3 separate regions of the Homo sapiens genome follow, and all the other regions are linked to region 1. Evidence: promoter capture Hi-C in 16 types of primary human blood cells and fetal thymus (Javierre and others, 2016). All regions are on one chromosome and are shown on one strand. The core of a region is centred on a gene start or on the middle of the fragment in contact, and the rest is flanking DNA. Distances in the headings are between cores, read along the strand shown. Region 1 holds the start of ROPN1B (rhophilin associated tail protein 1B). Region 2 overlaps ZXDC (ZXD family zinc finger C). Region 3 holds the start of LOC107986044 (a long non-coding RNA gene).

Region 1 (4,078 bases), core at 958-3,457:
AACATCTATGTGCTCCTCCCTCTCTACTCTTACCTCTGTTTTAGAAGAAAGCAACTTTCCTGAATTGTGTTATTATCGTTTCCCTGTAAAATTATATTCTCTTGACTGTATCCTGTTATTTATTGTATCCTGTTATTTATTGACTGATAGATCAAGGATAATCTAACCTACGCCTCTCAACCTGGCCTCCTACAGACAGACATCAAATCACCTCAGTCAGACAGTGCTATGAAATTCCTCCCTTGTGTTTAACCTGCTACTCTAAAATTCTATTTTATTTCATCTTCCATCTCCAGCTGTTAGTGCTTTGTCTGAAAAACCTGTTCTTCTGCACAAAGATCATTATTATTCATTCCTGTCAGTATTATTTACTCAGCATGAAAGCAGGAAGAGATTGGCACACCTTCATCTCATGTGCATACAACAGAACAGACTCCAGTGGCCAGAGCATTCTTGTTATCCTGGAAGATGCACCTGCAGCCCTCAAGCCTCCAGCCTCCCCCTCCCAACCTAAGGCACACTCTGTTGGTCAGGTGCCTGTACCAACACCTGGTAGCCCCTCCACAGAGGCCTCAGAAAGATAGGTGATAGCTAGTGACTAGGTTTCTTTCATCCCCAGATCTTGCCCTGTGGGCAGTGGCCGTCCCCAGACCATCCAGGATTCTCCAGGTGTGCAAGGACCTGCAGGATTTTGACAAATGCCAGCAGAGTGGCCTCTTTACAAATGGATGACAACAGGCTGTGAAAAGCTTTCTGCATGCATAAGCCAAAAATCTAGTTCCCCCACTTGTTCACTGATGCTTAAAATTGCTTTAGGGAGAGACAAAGGCTTTCATCTCACAACCAGAGAAAGCTCTGAAGACCCTGGGTGAATTAATTGATTTAGACTAATACACACTGTAGTATAAATGGACTGAAGGATTACATGATGCAATGAGCAGCTTTCATATGGGTGTGAAGTGACACGGGGTGTAGCAGAGAAAGATGGGGCTTTTCTTGCCTCTTTGGGTGCTTAAAAAGAACAGTCTTGAGGCCAGGTGCGGTGGCTCACACCTGTAATCCCAGTGCTTTGGGTGACCAAGGGGGGGTGGATCACTTGAGCCCAGGGGTTCAAGACCAGCCTGGGCAACACGGCAAAACCCTGTTTATAAAAATATAAAAATTAGCCTGGTGTGGTGGCACACACCTGTAGTCTCAGCTACTTGGGAGGCTGAGGTGGGAGGATTGCTTAGACCTAGGAGATTGAGGCTGCAGTGAGTCATGATTACCCCATTGCATTCCAACCTGGGCAACAGAGTGAGACTCTGTCTCAAAACAAAGCAAAGCAAAACAAAACAAAACAAAAACAACAGTCTTGAAATCAGAAGACCTGGAGACAAGTTGGGCCCTGGGCCCTACTGCCAGCTGTTTGATCACAGGCAAAATTACTCGAAGCCTTGAGCCTGTTTTCTAAAACGAAGGTAATATCTACCTTCAGAGTTTACTGTGAAACTTTGATGTCATCATGTTTGTAAAAGTGCCCTGGCACAGTGACCACATTCTACCCTATAAATATTTTCTATCTTTCCCTGTTGTCCCCAGGCATCTCAGGCTCTGTTCCTATCCACTCCATGCCCCTTTCTTAGCATTATAAGGTCAAGAGTGAGGAATCTGGGACCACGCAACCCAGATTCAGATCCTGACTCTGTCACTTGCTGACTGTCATCTTGGACAAGTTTAACCTCTCTGTGCTCAGTTCCCTCATCTGTAAAAATGGGGATAACAATAGTACTTGCCTCATGGGGTGACAGTAAGGATGAAATGAGTTCATGTGTGTAATGCACTTAGAACAATTCCTGGCACCAAAAACGCATTGTAAGAGGTGTTGTTGCTATGATTCCTGAGGAATTCTCACCTGTCCACTTTCCACAAGCCGAAAGATCAAGCTCCACTTCTGCCCTCTCACCTACAAAAGCGCACCGTCAATGGCTACACATTCCGCCCCACCCCCAACGCCCCCAGCCCGGGTTTCCTAACGTCCCCAGCCCAGTCCTTAACCCTCCAGGCCGTCTGGTCCTTCCACCACCAGCAAAGCCCAAAACAGCTTTCAGCGTCCCCTAGCAGCGCCCTAGCGGGACCCTGGGAACCCGCCGCTGCAGGAGAGGCGGGGCGGCTCTGTGACGTCGCGCCCGGCGCTACCCCTGGTGACCTGGCAGCGGAGCCCGCGCAGGGTTTGCCAGGCGAAGGCGGAGCGCTAACGTCTAACGCTAACGGCGGTCGTGCCCCGCCGCTGCTGTCACCCCCGGCCGCTGCTGCCCTCCCCGCCGAGGTTCTACTGCTCTCCTTCTTAAGAAGGGTGGGAGGCACTCGGTCTCTCCCCACACCTCTCGCCTGAGGCCAGGCGCCAGGTGTCGCCTGAAGCCAGACAGCCGGTTTGGGAGCGAGCCTGAGGTAGCCACCCCGAGGGGAAGTGGAGGGAGGGCAGGGCTCTGAGCGCCCCGAGGGCTGCGCTGGTCTGAGGGAGGAGCCCTGCCGGACGCCCCCTGGATTCTGAGCCTCTCCTTGTTCACAGGGCAAGGGGAGGGCAAGGGGAAGGCAAGGGGATCTTCAAGAGAATGTGACTGTGGGGGATTATGGCTTTCTGGCCAATTTGTGTGCGTATTTTGTACCCAGAATACTATTATACGGTTTCTTACCCGGAGGACAGTGGTTGGGAGGCTCAAGAGTTTGGAATCAGAGCCCTCCACCGAGGAGCCACACCTCTGCTTTTTCATCAGCGACAGGGATATAAAAATACCTCTGGGTGAATTGTCATGTGGACCAATGGGCATACCTAGCACTTCATAGACTCCTATCACACATTATTTTATACCTAGCACTTCATAGACTCCTGTCAGGCATTATTTTATACCTGGCACTTCATAGACTCCTATCACATATTATTTTATACCTAGCACTTCATAGACTCCTATCACGCATTATTTTATACCTAGCACTTCATAGACTCCTATCACGTGTTCATTTTATAGCTAGCACTTCATAGACTGCTATCACGCATTCATTTTTACTAGTACCTATTGAACACTAAGTTCCAGGCACTGGGCTAGGCACTGGGATGGTGTGGTGAGCAAAAACTGACCAGTCCTGCCGTGGAGTTTGCTGGGGGAGACACATGTTACTCAAAGAATCACACTAAGGATAGGTAAGTGATGCTCTGGAAGGGTATGTACAATGGAACTGACAGGGTAATCAGGGAAGGTTAAGCAGACCTCCAAAGGAAGAATCAACCTGTTAAGAGGAGGAGAATGCATTCCAAACAAGAGTAACCACATCCCAAACCCACCACCTCCAATTCCGAACCCAAACAGGGATGTGCAGTTGTCTGTGCTTGGTTCCAAGCCGCTCATAGAAACCCTCTGAGATTCTGCCCTGGAGCCTTTCATTCATGTAATGGAGACTTTCATTTATGAAATGGAAGCCCTGTTTAGCCCATACCAATAAAAACAAGTGAGAAATCCCTGAAACAAGACTATACAGTCTATTTTAAGACCTACATTCTTCAGCACTTGGCAGGTATACGTTGGGCTGCCATTTCACATTGGGAGGCATGTTTTGTTTGCTTTTTTGTGTTTTTTAAAAATTCCTTTCTTCCCCCCTCTCCGAGAAACACCCAAGAATGATCAATAAATACTAAAAAAATTTTAAAAAATCCTTTTTTCCTCTGTACAGATTTAGTGGTTATTACTGTTAAAACTTTTCTAATACTTTGCAAAGTCTAAAATTAATCATTATTTTATCATCCTTTTCCTCCAAATAAAAGAACATAAATAAAGTAAAAGGTCATGAAGTCCCACCAATCTAAGACCACTTTAGTTTCTTGTCTTGGGATTTCCGAGCCATGCTGGTGTTGGTATAAATGGAAAACTTAGAACTAGTCTGTGGCTACCAACTCCTGGGGGACTGTTTCTCTCCTGACTAGAAGCAGCAATGGAGACAGGTTTCTTTGTTGCTTACCCCAGCCTGTAGGCAGATATTTTCAGCCACACCTTTTCACGCTGAGGGTGTAGTCCCTGGGCGGGTCTCAAGTTTAGGTCAGAAG
Region 2 (4,078 bases), core at 1,157-3,656, 500 kb after region 1:
TGTTTGTCCGAGGCCCCAGACCTACTTACGTGGCAAACTTAGGACTCGAATCCAGGCAGTCTGACTCCAGAATTCAGGCTTTTGATCAACTACACTACCCTGACTCTCCTCCATTTATACTCTTCTTTGAGAATTTCATCCACTTTTGTGGCTTAAATGATGATTCGGGTGCTGTCTGCTTCGCTCCCTGCCTGGCCTGCTCTCCCCAGCACCAGTGGCACATCCCCTGCCCTCTGCGCATTAGACGCACAAGGGTACCAAAAACACAACATGTCCAAACCAAACTCTGCTTCCTCCAAATCCACTCAGCTGACACACTGACATCAACTAAAATCCAAATCCATCACCATATACTGTGACTTCTAACTCCCACCTCTGCTATTGATGCCCCTTTCTCTTTTCCCACTGTTAAGGCCCCCGTCCAGGCCATCCCACCTCCCCACACCCCTGGCTGCTTTCAATCCTGAAGCCAGGCTAAGCCACAACTCAAACATGATGACATCATACGCTCACCCAAGCACTCAAGCCTGCCACTCCTGGCCCTGAGAGGCTCTCCCAGGCCACTCCGCCTCCAACACCCACACGCACGTGTCTGGTGCTCTCCCCTCTTCTTCAGCTGACCGCGAGGCCGTTCTCACCCCGGTCTGGGGAAACTCTCTGCGCCCCTGCAGCACCCTACATGTTACCTGTTCCCCTGTCTGCACCTCCAGCTGAAACTCTGACGGAAGGAGGAACTGTTTCTCAGTTACACCACTTGTATATATGTTCATTATGTTCTAAGAGCTAGGCTCAGCTTTAAATGGGTCTTTATTATTCTCTCTTCCAGGTAAGGAAACCAAGGCCCAGAGAAGCAGCTTGACTGAGGCCACCACTTTAGGGAGCGGTAGAGCCAGACTTTGAATCCATGACCACCCGACGTGTCCTGGCTCACTGCCTCCCAGTGCACCTGCAGAACTAGAGTAGGGCCAGCACGCACAAGTCACGCACAGGTCACGCAGCCAATTTCTGGCAAATGAACTGAGCCTTCAGTGTTTTAAAGGAAAAAACCACTCTACTATACCTTTTAAAAAGTCAGGTTGGGCGTGGTGGCTCACACCTGTAATCCCAGCACTTTGGGAGGCCAAAGTGGGTGGATCACTTGACGTCAGGAGTTTGAGACCATCCTGGCCAACATGGTGAAACCCTGTCTCTACTAAAAGCATAAAAATCAGCCAAGCGTGGTGGCATACGCCTGTAGTCCCAGCTACTCAGAAGGCTGAGGCATAAGAATCACTTAAACCTGGGAGGCAGAGGTTGCAATGAGCCAAGATCACACCATTGCATCCAGCCTGGGTGACAGAGCAAGACTGTCTCAAAAATTAAACAAAAAAAGAAAAAGTCAGTCTAGCTTTACTGCTCTCCAATTACAAAATGATTGGAGTGACAATTCAAACGTGATCTCAAAAGTACCTACCATTTACTGAGTCCGAGCTCCATGCCAGATGGATAAACAGGCATTTTCCACATTTCACCTAATCCTCACGACCACCAAATTAAACAGGTAACTTAACTAGAGCCACAGATCTAATGAGGATCAGGGCCATGAGTCAAACTGCGTCTGATTCTCAAGTCACTGCTCCCAAAATAGTACAATTAACTCAATGAGGTAAGTAAACATAATGCTGCAACTTATATTGAGTCAGTCTTTAAGCAGCTAACATTTACCTTTAAACAACGGAAACTTAACAGGATAAATGTTGGCATTGCACTTAGTTTACTGCTCAAAGCAATGTTTTAAAATCTACCTTCCACAGGACACTCGAACGGCTTTGTGCCTAGGTGGGTTATGCTGTGGCCTTTCAGATGCTCTGCTCTGGTGAATGATTTCCCACAGCCCTCGACAGGGCAGGTAAACCTCCGGTCATCGTCATGTTTCCTGCCAGACAGAAAAATAAAGGAGCTGTGATTCCTCACACAACTCACCATAATTCTTTAAAATTCTACAAAACATACCAAAACACAAACTTTGCATTTACAAAAATGATCAGTACATTTCGGAAAATCTTAATTCTGTCTTTAATCCATGTGAGCAGATTTGCAATTTAGCTACCCCATAAAAATTCTACTTTAATGACTAAGCTGACCCCAGAGTCACACATCAAACAATTAATGCTACTTCAATCTAATATAAGCTAATCTAAGAACAGTGGAGTCCCAAATGTATTGATGAAGGTGTTTCTATTGTTTAGAAACCCCAATGATCAACAAGCTTTCCGAGCGACAGACGGTCGTGAGAAATGTGCACAGAGCATCAGCTGCAATGCCAAAAGGACTCTCTTAAGCCAACTTGTAAAGACTGTGTCTTTTCCTAAGTGACATTTTTATATTAAATCCTCAGAGCCCAGCTGTGCAAGTACAGAAAAACCACTGAATCTCTCCGAGTCTCACTGTAAAACAGGGAGAATAAGAACATTAGCTTTGAGGTTGTTGGGAAGGTAGAAGACACACATGTAAAGTGCTGAGTGTCACCTGGACACAGTCTCCAGGGTTGTCATTACCACCATGAAAACTTGTAATTACATGAAGAAAGCTTATTCTACAATGTTAAGTTAAAAAAAAAACCTGGAATTGTTTTTTTTTTAAGAACAGAGTATGCCAATTTAGCTTTTTTTAAAAAAAGTATACACAGAAAAAACTGACTTCAGGTGATGAGATTCTGAGCAATTTTCTTTTTACAGTTTTCTGAATTTTCCAAATCATCAACACTGAGCTCCTTTTTTAACAACTTAAAAAATGTCTACAGATATTTCATTCATTGGTTTCTGCTGCTGACAAACCACTCATTTTCAAACCTGATAATGCAAACCAAAATGTAAGGATTACCTTCTGTGCCTTAGAAGTTTGGACATGCTGGTGAAGGTCCAGCCACAGCTGTCAGAGTCACAAATAAATGGTCTTTCACCTTATAAAAGAAAAAATTATACAGCATAAAATTTACAACTCCAACAGCTACGATGAAGACAAATCTTGGGTCCAAATGCTGTGCGTTCCCTAGCTCATTACCTGTATGGCTCCGCAGGTGAATTTTCAGCCGACAGGCTTTATCATACTGCTTGCTGCACCCAGGAAAGGAGCAGGAAAAGAGCTCTTGTTCCCTGAAGTGGGCTCGGTTATGGGAAAACAGGGCACTCACTGTGATAAATGTCTTCTCACAGCCTGAACAAGGAAAACACAAACCCTGCTCAAAGCGTGGCAAAAATTATACAACATAGCTAATGCTAGTCACACCCACCAGACCCTGTTCACACTGAAGCAGACAAGGGAAAACATGACTCAGAAGCACTCTCTAAAAAGGGAAGACCATTAATGCTTGGCTTTGTGATCACCACAGGAAGGCAGCTAATGGCAGCCAATAGGCACACGCTGGCCACCTGTTGCAACATGACTTGGAGATGGAGCAACCGATAAAGAGAAAGTCCTCCGTTCACAGCCATCTACTGGCCGGCTCCGGAGCACTGATCCTGCACACACACTGAGACCCAAGAACCCCATGAGAGAAATCAAATACTAAGGAACAAGATTTTGTCTGGTAGGGTTGATCTTTGAAAGGCTACAAATCATCCTACTAGCCAGGATTTTTCACCCCTTGGGGGTGATGCTGCATCCTCTACATATCCAAATTTCCTCCCTGACACCCTCCAACTGCCAGCCCTGTCCCTTGCTGTTTGGATTCTTTTTCCTTTCGCAATTTCCTTAGGTTCCCTGCTTTGTAATCTTCACCTCAATCCTAACCCCTGGCCAAAGCAGCTAAGCCTCAACAATTCCACAGCAATACTTCTCCTCCGACAGAAACATTCAGGGCTCCAACAGGGTGGAAAACATGAGGCTGCAGGATGTTTAACAGGAGTCTTTGCTGCAGCTCCTCTTGGAGCCTTTAACGAGATACTATCATGCCTATGAACTGCCACACAGATGTACATGGCATAGCACTGCCCAAAAGTATCAGCCCAAGGAACCCTACTTTCCCCAGCAACATCTAACTCAGAAATGCTGATCTTTGGCCTCAATCTGGTCCCAAAATACCTCCAGGGTATTTTGG
Region 3 (4,078 bases), core at 670-3,169, 420 kb after region 1:
CACCTTCCAGGTGCTACGCGTTGCGGTCAGCAGGTCACAGGACACAGCTCCTGTCCTCTGGGACCTCCAGGACAGCAGAGGAGACACCAGCAGAGGTCCTCGTGAAGTGATCATGGCTCTGGGGGCAAAAAGAGGACATATCAGCCGAGACTTGGGCGCAGGGGTGGCGAGGCTGGGGCTGAGACGGAAAGACTGGCTGCGGAAGAGATGGGAGGAGGACAGGGGCTAGGCCCTTGGCAGGGGCTCGGCAGAGGGGAAAGCCTGGAAACCAAGTGGGCTCCAGGCAGAGGGCACCGAGGGGGCCGCGGGAAGAGGCCAGACCCGAAAGTCCTCGTCAACAGCGCCACAGAGCTCGGGCATCACCCGGGGTCACGGTGCCCCCCAGCAATTTCTTCTACTTTTCACTGTTTTGTTATTATAGAAGTAATACATGTCTACAACTTCATTGTAAAGAAAAATGAGAGCGAGCAATAGGAAAAAAATAATCAGCCATAATCTCGCCTCGCAGACATAGTTTTCGGTGTATGTGCACATACGCGGTTTCCCCAGGCATCCGCTGGAGAGCGGCGCTCCTGGGCTAGATGACGAGGGAACCCAGAGCGAGCTGCCTACCTCAGGGCTTGCAGACACCTGGGTGGGGATGTCATGGAGTGGGTGCTATGGCCAAGCCAGAATCCATTCAGATCCCCCCATCCCTTTCCCTAACACAACGGATGCCGTCCAGGCACCAGCCCTATGGCACCGGGATGGGGCCTCCCACAGAGTCCCCAGCTTCTATCCCTGGCAGCGATTAGTTTAGGCATGCAGTTTTTTGGCTAAGATATGAGGAGAGGTGTTCTGAGGGGCTACTCATGAGAAGTTTCTTTGTAAGTCATTTCTGGTGAAGCTTTCTGTTTCTTGAAGCAAAATACAACCTAAATGATACCTGAAACTAGTGTAAAGACTACCTTCCCCGGGCTCCTGGGGCTAAATCACGCCCTCCCGGGGAGCACCCCTGATGCTCACATCTCCTACCCTTCCTCCTGTATCTGGATCCCACCCTAGCCTCCTCAGCACCATGGTCCCTCCAGCTTGCCTTCTGCCTCTACACACACTCTCTCTCTGTCTCTCTCTCTCTCTGTATGTCTCTTTCATTTCCTCTACGCCCACAACCTGGTCTAGTCTCAACCCCTCTTCCTGGCTGGCTGACCACAGTCCCCTAACCACCTGGGACCTGCACCCCACCCCCACCTGTGGAGACCACGCCCAGGAGCACACCTGGGAACCAGGCCAGTGCCATGCAGTTTTCTCACCTGCCATGCTGCATGCCCCAGCATCCTGCCTTCTGAACTGTGGCACTGGGGGTCTGGCTTTAATGACCTAGCCTCCACCAGAGCTGCAGGGAAGACCAGGGTCATTTCTCCAGGCCCACTGTGGGTCTGCACACCCATAAGGGAGCAAGATAGAGCCACTGCCAGGACCCTCAAAAGTGCTGTCCAGGGCACTTTCTCCTCTTCCTCGTCACCCATCCATCTCAGTCCCCCAGGAGATCCTGAAACTGCTCACACCAAGGTCAACCGATTTGTTGGCAAATCCAATGAACACTCTTCAGTCCCTCTCACTTGGCCACTCAAGAGCACTTGGCAATGTGGACCCCTTTCTTCTTCTCCTTTTGAAAATATTTATTGAGATATAATTTACATATCTAAACTTCACCCACTTAAAGTGCATTTTACTATATTCAGAGTAAATCTAATGTTCACCATAGTCTAATTTTAGAACACTTTCATCACCCTAAAGAGCAAAATCCCATCTCCATTAGCCACCACTGCCCATTTGCCTGTTTCCCCAATTCCATCTAGGCGCCTTCATAGGATATGTGGTCTCTTGTGACCACATATGAGCCCAGTCTTACTCTGGGCTCCAAGACCTTCTTTTTTATTCCACTAGCACTGTTTCTCTGACACTGTGGTCAAATGTGATATGCCTGGGATGTGGATGCCAAAAGTCATCCCTGTTTTTTCCTAGACTCCAATCAAATTATCCATCCATCTGAGCTGGCAGGAAAGCAATCTGATTAATGTGATTGCTCACAAAATATAAAAAGCATGCCAGGCTAGAGCACCTGGCAGGCACTGGTTGGGGACACGTTCCCAGAGAGGGAGGGGGGATGGGGCTTCAGACACTCTTTAAGGACTTTGCAGCTTTCCCCTGAAACATGGTCCTGCAGGCCACAACCCATGCAGGGGCTCCTAGGTCAGTGTAAGTAGTGCAAAGAGCTCATATCACTGCCCTCCCTGTGGAAAGCCCTTGACTCACCGTGAAGCACGGTAGACATGGCTGTCATTCTCCATAACCTACCACCTCTCAGCAAAAGGAAAACCCCCATGTGAGAGATCTGGGCATCTAAGGCATTTTACCTTGAAGGTGACTCTCCAATCCAGCCTGGCCTGCTGTGCTGTAGAACAACGGTGAGACCAGGTGCTGCAGGAAAGAAATACAAGCTGCTCTCTCAGGCTTTGTCGTTCTGGTAGACCTCTGAATACCCTGTCTGGGTACAGGACTACTCCTGACCCCCCTGGTTTCTGAGTCCCTCCTCCCACGGCAGAAGCCAAAGATCTTGTGTGGAAGGCGGGAGGTGCAGGCAGGCGATCCAGGTGCTGCCTACCGGTCAGGAGTGCATAGCAGACTTCGGATCACAGCATGTTCTCTGCCAGAACGCGCCTGCGATGGCTTTGGGCTCCGCTCCAGGCTACAGCATCTCCCAGCTTGATTCCCTATCGTCCTACAGAGTCTGGGGGCACCCCCATGTCCTTTTCTCCCCCAAGTGGCTATAGTTGCTTTCTGTTGTTTATTCCCGAGAGCCCAGACTGATATACCTTCTTTGAGGAGGAAAATACGAAATCTGAAATACGAATTTCTCCTTTAAGAAGATTGTTAGCTTTTCCCAAAATGTTTGATTATGAACATTTTCAAGCTTCAAACATACAGAAATGTTGGAAGGATTTTGAAGCAGACATCCACATGCCCACTGCCTGGGCTGGACAGCTCACAGGCCACTACGATTCACCACACAGCCAGCCAGCCACCATTGCTCCACCAATCATGCATCTGATTTTAAAAATTAGCTTTTAATCAGCAAATGGTATTTCTAGTTAGACCTGTTAGGCTAAGACTAAAAGTTCCAAATCAGGTCACGTTTTCTAGGTGGTTTTCTTTCTAACCTTGTAAGCTACCAAGAGCAAAAACAAAGGCCAGAACACACAAACTGACAGATAACTTGCCTTTATTATGAAGTACACCTTTGGACTTGTGGGGTTTTTTTCCCAAAGCTTGTGCATCATTGTCTGGGATAACTGCATAAAATGGAAGGACGATTCCTGGTGAGAGGCAGTGTGTTCTAGGTAAGAGCAAAGCTGGAATCCGCTGTCTCACTGTGTCCCTGCTCTGTCCACACCGGCAACTCATGCAAAGGCAGGGTGATCATGCAGGTGAAATGGGTGGATTGGTGTCAAGTGCGTGGAACAGTACCTGGCACATAGAAAACACTCTGTAAGGTTCATGGGGAGATTCACGACTGTTCATAAACTGATCTGTTGATGACAATGAATGGGCAGGAGCCTGGGTACCTTTGTTCTCTTTGGGTCACTTATGTTCTAGCTTCCTAAAAGTCTCATTAGAGCACCTTGTATTTAGATAAACCATTACAAAAACACTTACTTTTCTACTTGAGTCACCAGTTTATGAAGTGCTTCTTGTGGTTTGCTAAAACCTAAATCGGAGGGACAGGTTTTTGTTCTGCTTTGATGGTTTGTAGGGAGATAAGGCTGCAGAGGTAGGCTGGGGCCGGGTCATTGAGGACTTTGAATGTCAGTGTAAGGAGCCTCTCTCCTAAGGGTAAAGGGACAACTTGTCTTTCAGCACATTTGACAATAGCAGCTGTAACGAACACACACGTGCACACATGCACACACACACACTACATGTGCACACATGTGCACATGCACACATGCACAAATCACATATGTGGCTTAACACAATACAACATTCTTCCTCCCTTGTGCAAAGCCCACTGTGGATATTGCAAGTTGGGACACTA

Evidence for each region. Contacts are between HindIII fragments. The CHiCAGO score rates a contact against its expected background, and 5 or more counts as called.
Region 2: a fragment that was not itself captured here is called in contact with the fragment with the promoter of ROPN1B in region 1 in 1 of 17 cell types (total CD8 T cells); the score reaches 5.8 in total CD8 T cells.
Region 3: a contact is called between a fragment that was not itself captured here and the fragment with the promoter of ROPN1B in region 1, in 1 of 17 cell types (monocytes). The highest score is 5.8, in monocytes.

What each region holds. Positions count from the first base shown.
Region 1 is chr3:125,966,971-125,971,048 of GRCh38, forward strand. It overlaps ROPN1B (rhophilin associated tail protein 1B), which reads left to right and starts at 2,208. Exons shown (of 7, transcript NM_001308313.2): 1 at 2,208-2,430. It also overlaps the pseudogene ALG1L1P. The HindIII fragment of the contact is 3,412 bases long and covers 748-4,078 here.
Region 2 is chr3:126,469,111-126,473,188 of GRCh38, forward strand. ZXDC (ZXD family zinc finger C) reads right to left here. Exons shown (of 10, transcript NM_025112.5): 2 at 3,043-3,195; 3 at 2,863-2,941; 4 at 1,785-1,915. Among named protein-coding and RNA genes, the nearest start is that of ZXDC, 4.7 kb to the right of the region's middle. The HindIII fragment of the contact is 321 bases long and covers 2,247-2,567 here.
Region 3 is chr3:126,389,784-126,393,861 of GRCh38, forward strand. LOC107986044 (a long non-coding RNA gene) reads right to left here and starts at 2,465. Exons shown (of 3, transcript XR_001740563.1): 1 at 2,400-2,465; 2 at 1-118. CFAP100-DT (CFAP100 divergent transcript) reads right to left here. Exons shown (of 2, transcript NR_103789.1): 2 at 3,249-3,510. RefSeq lists an enhancer at 1-297. The HindIII fragment of the contact is 2,070 bases long and covers 885-2,954 here.